2 separate regions of the Homo sapiens genome follow, and region 1 is linked to region 2. The links are contacts of gene promoters, found by promoter capture Hi-C in blood cells and fetal thymus (Javierre and others, 2016). All regions are on one chromosome and are shown on one strand. Each heading gives the region's core, a stretch centred on a gene start or on the middle of the fragment in contact. The rest is flanking DNA. Distances are from core to core; before and after follow the strand shown. Region 1 overlaps LOC107984867 (a long non-coding RNA gene). Region 2 holds the start of CDH8 (cadherin 8).

Evidence for each region. Contacts are between HindIII fragments. The CHiCAGO score rates a contact against its expected background, and 5 or more counts as called.
Region 1: a fragment that was not itself captured here is called in contact with the fragment with the promoter of CDH8 in region 2 in 3 of 17 cell types (M2 macrophages, M0 macrophages and M1 macrophages); the score reaches 11.9 in M2 macrophages.

The regions. Positions count from the first base shown.
Region 1 is chr16:58,820,418-58,824,118 of GRCh38, forward strand. The region is part of intron 2 of LOC107984867 (a long non-coding RNA gene); the gene reads left to right. Among named protein-coding and RNA genes, the nearest start is that of GOT2, 88 kb to the left of the region's middle. The HindIII fragment of the contact is 4,096 bases long and covers 1-3,701 here.
Region 2 is chr16:62,034,707-62,038,389 of GRCh38, forward strand. It overlaps CDH8 (cadherin 8), which reads right to left and starts at 1,732. Exons shown (of 12, transcript NM_001796.5): 1 at 1,374-1,732. LOC124903777 (a long non-coding RNA gene) reads left to right here and starts at 1,884. Exons shown (of 2, transcript XR_007065217.1): 1 at 1,884-2,071; 2 at 2,507-2,727. RefSeq lists an enhancer at 1-34. The HindIII fragment of the contact is 7,783 bases long and covers 1-3,683 here.

The DNA of each region.
Region 1 (3,701 bases), core at 572-3,071, 3.2 Mb before region 2:
ATTCTAGTTCTGGATACTGGATGAATCAGCAAATTGGTAGTATTAGGCTTCATAGTGTTTGCAAGGAGGTGGACTGTTTTCCCAGGGAGTTCTCAAGTTTAAACCCAGGAGGGTTATGAAGTCACATTGTTATTATAGTTTGAACACAGCAGTCCTGTCTTCCAGGACAAGAATCACAACTTTTTATGAGTGTTGAATCAAGAGGCAAGGGCCAACTTTTCAAGTAGTGGAAATGCTGCCTATTAAAGTTTATTAAAAACAGAGAAGTAAAAAGCCTAGTTATTCTTGTTTATGCTCTTGACTTCAAATTCCTCTCCAGAACCATCATCTGGATCTACAAACCCGTGTTTGTCCTTGCCAGCATTTCAACTGAATTAATATGAGTAAAACATACGACATCATCTCTTGAAAATATATGTTGTTTCTTGGAATTGAGTCTGGTGTGCCTTTGTTGGGGGCCATGTAGTCTGAATTCTCCCAAGAGAGGCTTAGACATGAACTTGAGTGGGTAGTTTACTAGGGAAGCAGGAATAAGGGAGTGGGAAGAGACAGACAGGGAATGAGAAAAATCAGTGCAAGCATTATCAAGGTCAGTGCTGTGGGGTGATGGGGATTCAATTCTGCTGGGAACGTCTGAGAAGGTTGCAGAATGCCTCTCTTATCCGAGGGGAGGGATGCTGGAGAATTCATCCACATACCTCATCCCCCATTGTTTGAGGTTGTCTTGAGGGTTGGAAAGCACGAACTTACCTGCAGTTTTATGTAGGCTAAGTGGCAACTTAAGGACTAGAGAACTTCCAGGGCAGACAGAGAACACAGTGCATCTTGAGGCAAGATGCTGCCTGTGATGTTAGCCTGAGTTCACATAAAACTGTCCACTCAGCTGCTACTGAATCACACGTAGATCAAGAGAGTGTGACTGCTGTAGTCTGCAACCACAAATGAGATATATATCTGTAAGTACAGTGTCAGGCTTGGGATGAATGGGCTCAGTTTACAAATACTGTCTTAGTCTGCTTTTGTGCTGCTATAAGAGAACACCATAGACTGGGTAATTTATAAGAAAATAGAAATTTATTTCTCACAATCCTAGAGGCTGAGAAGTCCAAAATCCAGGCATTGGTGAGGGCTGCATCCTCTGGAGGGAAAGAACACTATGTCCTTATATGGAGGAAGGTGAAAGGGCAAGCTAACTGAGTTCTGCATGGACTCTTTTATGAGAGCCTTAATCCCATTCAAGAGGGAGGAGCCCTCATGGCCTAACAACCTTAAAAAAATTTTTTTTTCAAATATATCTTATTTTAGATTTGGGGGTACATGTGCTTGTTTGTTACATGGGTATATTGCATACGAGTAGGGATTTGGCTTCTAGTGTACCCAATACCCCGATAATGAACATTGTACTGGATAGGTAATTTTCAACTCCCCCTCACACGCTCTCCCCCTCTTTGGACTCCCTAGTGTCTATGGTTTCCATCTTTATGACCATGAATACCTATTGTTTAGCTCCCACTTATAAGTGAGAACATTTGGTATTTGGTTTTCTGTTTCTGAGTTAGTTCACTTAGCATAATGGCCTTCAGTTCCATCCAAGCTGCTGCAAAAGACACTATTTCATTCTTTTTAGTGGCTGCATAGTATTCCATTTTGTATGTATACCACATTTTCTGGTCAACTGTTGATGGACAATTAGGTTGGTTCCATGAGTTTACTATTGTAAATAGTGCTGTGATGAACATATGAGTACAGGTGTCTTTTTTTATACAAAGACTTTTTTCCTTTGGGTAGATACTCAGTAGTGGGATTACTAGGCTGAATGGTAGTTCTATTTTTAGCTCTTTGAGAACTCTGCATACTGTTTTCCATAGTGATTGAACTAATTTATATTCTCAACAAAAATGTATGTGTTTCCTTTTCTCCACAGCCTTGCCAACACCTGTTATTTTTTGACTTTTTAGTAATATCCATTTTGATTGGTGTAAGATGATATCTCATTGTAGTTTTAATTTACATTTCTTTGAAGATTAGTTATGTTGAACATTTTCTTCATGTGTTTGTTGGCTGTTTGTATGTCTCCTTTTGAGAAATGTCTGTTTATGTCCTTTGCCCAGCTTTTTTTTAAAAACTTTTTTTTTAATATTTTAAGTTCCGGTGTACATGTGCAGAACGTGCAGGTTTGTTACATAGGTATACACATGCCATGGTGGTTTACTGCAACCATCAACCTGTCATCAACAGTAGGTATTCCTCCTAATGTTATCTCTCCCCCCTCCTCCTACCCTGCCAAAAGGCCCCGGTATGTGATGTTCCCCTCCCTGTGTTCATGTGTTCTCACTGTTCAACTCCCACTTATGAGTGAGAACATGCGGTATTTGGTTTTCTGTTCTTGTGATAGTTTGCTGAGAATGATGGTTTCCAGCTTCATCCATGTCCCTCCAAAGGACATGAACTCATCCTTTTTTATGGCTGCATAATATTCCATGGTGTATATGTGCCACATTTTCTTTATCCAGTTTATCATTGATGGACATTTGGGTTGGTTCCAAGTCTTTGCTATTGTGAATAGTGCCACAATAAACATACGTGTGCATGTGTGTTTATAGTAAAATGATTTATAATCTTTTGGGTATATACCCAGTAATGGGATTGCTGAGTCAAGTGGTATTTCTAGTTCTAGATCCTTGAGGAATCGCCACACTGTCTTCCACAATGGTTGAACTAATTTACACTCCCACCAACAGTGTAAAAGTGTCCCTATTTCTCCATATCCTTTCCAACATCTGTTGTTTCCTGACTTTTAAATGATCGCCATTCTAACTGGCATGAGATGGTATCTCATTGTGGTTTTGATTTGCATATCTCTAATGACCAGTGATGATGAGCATTTTTTCATATATCTGTTGGCTGCATAAATGTCTTCTTTTGAGAAGTGTCTGTTCATATCCTTTGCCCACTTTTTGATAGGGTTGTTTTTTTCTTATAAATTTGTTTAAGTTCTTTGTAGATTTTAGATATTAGCCCTTTGTCAGATGGATAGATTGCAGAAATTTTCTCCCATTCTGTAGGTTGCCTGTTCACTCTGATGATAGCTTCTTTTGCTGTGCAGAAGCTCTTTAGTTTAATTAGATCCCATTTGTCAATTTTGTCTTTTGTTGCCATTGCTTTTGGTGTTTTAGACATGAAGTCCTTGCCCATGCCTATGTCCTGAATGGTATTGCCCAGGTTTTATTGTAGGATTTTTATGATCCTAGGTTTTACATTTAAGTCTTTGATCCATCTTGAGTTGATTTTTGTATAAGGTGTAAGGAAGGGGTCCAATTTCTGTTTTCTGCATATGGCTAGCCAGTTTTCCCAACACCATTTATTAAATAGGGAATCTTTTCCCCATTGCTTGTTTGTGTCAGGTTTGTCGAAGATCAGATGGTTGTAGATGTGTGGTATTATTTCTGAGGCCTCTGTTCTGTTCCATTGGTCTATATCTCTGTTTTGGTACCAGTACCATGCTGTTTTGGTTACTGTAGCCTTGTAGTGTAGTTTGAAGTCAAGTAGCATGATGCCTCCAGCTTTGTTCTTCTTTGCCAGGATTTTCTTGGCTATGCAGGCTCTTTTTTGGTTCCATATGAAGTTTAAAGTAGTTTTTTCCAATTCTGTGAAGAAAGTCAGTGGTATATAGCTTGATGGGTATAGCATTGAATCTATAA
Region 2 (3,683 bases), core at 482-2,981:
AGGAAACTCTTGTGGAATCTTCAGGAAAGGGTGGTAAAGTTGAAAGGACCTTTCCTCCCTCCCGCTGTCTTGGTGATAAGCTCTATCGTTTAATTGGTGCTGAAGTGAGCAGCTGCCAGCCCGATTTTCCATTACGGACTAATATTGTGCGTTTGCAACAATAAACAATTAATGTGGTTTGATTTCTTACATTTAGCAACCCAAGCAAACAGCTGCCATCTCCGCTGGTGGAGGCAAACGGCTAGTCCTTGACATGCCGCCGGCTCCGTGCCTGCGGGGGAAGGGTCAACCGCAAGGAAACTTTGAGGATTCTGCCAGACTGGGTGGGGGAAGGCTCTGGTGTTTGGGAGGAATAAGCGGAGGAAATTGTGGATACCTGTTGGCATCAGCGTTGGCGGCAGCACGTTTTTTTACCGTTTCCCAGCCTTGGCTGGATCCTGGGAGAACCGGAGTAGGTCCCTTATGAACCTCTTACGTACTGGCAGAACCTAGGCAAGAGCCTTTTTCCCTCCGATCCTGCGAGGGGCGCGACCAGCCCCTCAAAGGTTCCCGGATGAGAAGCGGCCAGACCACAGAAAGCGCAGGTCTGGGCTCAGCTGTCCCTAGGAGAGCGGCTACGGAGTCCCCGGCTTAAGGGGGCCTCCGTGCACGCAATCTCGAGTTGCGGGGAGACACTGCCTGGGGGTCCTGCAGGGGTGCTGGGCAGCGTCTTGGCGAGGGCAGAGCCGCAGGGCGACTCCGGAGCCCGGCAAGTTTGTAGCGGGCACCGCACCTCCCAGAGCTGGAGCTGCCACTTGTGGGAAAGCCTCGCGCTGGGGCTTTCGCAGCTGAGCCTTGGCCCGCAGCCCTGCCGCGGGGGTCGCCCTCCCTCGCCTCGGAGATGAGGCGGTGCAGAAAACCAGCCATAGACCACTCGGGCCCCCTCGCCTCCTTTTTTCCCTGGCTTGCACCCTCCGCACAGCGGGCTGCAGGTGCTTCCCATTCACCGCACGGACCCCGCAGTGAAGGCGCGCGGCTGCAGCCGCGCCTGCCTGCGTTGGGAAGCGGCGAAATAGCCAAGTCGCCGCAGGGAAGGAAACCGGCAGGAAAACTGGAGGGGCACAGCCTGGAGCTTGCTACTCTCTAGGATCTGTTGTCAAAGCAGTTTGCAAAAACAGTCAGGCAAAACCTTGAGGCGTACGTACGTTATCACCCACGGATATCGCGAAAGACACAGCTTAGCCCAGAGCCTATGCTAAGAACCCTCATCCACCATCTGAGGGGCAGGAGGCGCGCAAGGTGTCCGAAGGGGCATGGGAATTCCTATAAGAAACGGTCCCTTCTGGATAGTCGGAACATAGAGGAAAACGGGGGTGGGTTAGGGGAACACTTACTCTTGTGGGGCCCTGCGCTGGCGAATGTCAAGCCTCCAGGTTCACAAATGGCTGGAGGTGCTCGGGGTTAGCTCCCGAGGGCGGCAAGCGCCGACCGGTCCTCGCTCGCTAGGCAGGCGCCTCCGGATTCCGTTCATGCCTCTCGGAGCTACAGGGCTTGGTGCGGAGACGCAGGGCGGGCGCGCTGGGCTCTGGGTGTCCGCAACCCAAAGTGCAGCTGGTGTCTTGACGCTACCGTCTATGCACAAGCCGGCGGCGGCGGCGGAGCTTGGAGGAGGCAGGGAGATTCCAAATAAATCCACTAATTCTGGGCTGAGCGCTCCGGCGTGCGAGCCCGCCTGCCTGCCAAATGTAACTGTGAAGTGATGTGGAAAAGTGAGCCGGGTGCCTCCCCTGACGGATCTCATTGGGCAGAGCGCAGAGGCAGGTCTACCACTTGGAAATTCATGTAAGCAGTCCCCCCTCCCCGCCCCCTCCCCGCCTTCCCCCTTCGCTCTCCCGCGCTGGCTCGATCGCTCTCTTTCCCCCTACCCAAGTGGGCGCACAACTTTTCGCTCCTCGCTCCCGAGCAAGCCCCGCGCGTCTCTGCCGCCAGAGCCACGAGGTGAAGATGCGCCCTTCCGCGCGGTGCGCGCAGCCCGCTGAGGACCGAGCTCCTGGATAAGTGGGCTGGCAGATAATAACAGCATGCGGATGAGGTACCTGCGAGCTTTCTCTCTAGAGGTCTCACCTGAGCTCTGGGGCTGGCGTTATGTTGAAAAGCGTCTCAGTGACCCGCAGCTATTTTCCGTAGGAGGAAGAGGACGCGACAGGGCAAAGGGTTGAGCGTGGGCAGCTTACCTCCTCTTTATTCCAAGGGCCTCTTGCGTACAGAATAGGGTGATTGTGAGACCCCTGCCTGCAACTCAGACGCTATGTAGAGGCTGTGTGTCGCGGTTCTGTGATGGAGCGCATTCCTGATGTCCCCGTGCTCCTTTGGGAAAATGGGATGAGGGACAGCAGAGTGGCAGCCAGGAGGGGCGCGCAGTAGTTGGTTGTGGGGAGGAGGGCAGGCAAAGCAGAACTTGCTTGGGAAATAGGGGAGGAATTTCTAGGTCTTCTCAATGTGCCCTGATCTTGTCATATCCTCTCAGATACCATCCTTGCGGTTCTCCTGCCTCCACCAAGACCTGCCCTGTCTGTGGTCACTTCAAGTCTTCTGATGGGCTGCGCTCAGATCTTGAGAAATGGCCACCCTGGGGTAAAAGGGACCATGAATCAGGAGGTCCAGATTTCTTTTCTTTTTCAACACTGGGGCTAACATGTAGACGATGCCACAGTCATCATCTTCTAATAAAATTAGATAAATATAAGACAAATAAATTCTTACCTTAAAAAAAAAAACCCTCCCCTCCACAGGAGATCCCGATTTAGTCCCTTCCCTGTGTGCACTAGACGTGAGCCTGAGGGTGGATTTTACCATCTGGGGACAGAGCAAGAACAGAAGGGGGAAAAAGGTGCAGGGGACAAGACGCACAGTCTGTAGAGCTTGTACTGTCTCACTCAAATTAATGAGAAAGAGTGAACAGAATGAGAAAATAGGCACAACATGCTTATGATATTTATGCAAATTTGACATTTTTTTGTGTGCTGCATCTGACAACCCATTGTGAAATGTGAAAAAGAGTATTGGCTGTAGCTCTAATATCTGATTGTTTCATGTTCTAGCTGTCATAGGCAAGAAACTTAGTGGATTATTTCAGAGAGGGAGAGGTGAAGAGAACCAAGTGGTATTTTTTTTCCCCCAGGCAGTCACTAAGTAACTGTTTGTTCTCTTCTCAGACTGTGTCTGCTTACAGGGTATTGGAATTGGCTAATTCTGTCTTGGAAAAAGGAGCAGCAGTCAAGGCTCAATCAAATTATAACTGCTGCTAGACCAGACAGTCCCAAGTGGACAAAGAAATAGATCACATTTTGGGTTGTGCTTAATTTCAGATATTCATTTTCACTTGAACAAATAATTTGAACCGTTCCTTGGGGTAACTTCTTACATCTATGAAAACTCAAAAAAACTCATGTGCTACTGAAAGCTGGGGATTGTCACAAGTAACAAACTTGTCTCAAAAAAAAAAAAAAAAGCCAGATTGTTAGACAATATCCTCAAATCTCATTTTCTTAACAAACTATGCTGACATAGTAAAGATAGTCAGAATCCAATGGCTTTTAAAGAGAGCCAGAATCCAATGGCTTTGGGTATCTAGGGTTAAGAAGAGTTTGCTTTGACTCATCTTGTCCATATTTACTCTTACAGCAGTTATATACATTGTCTTC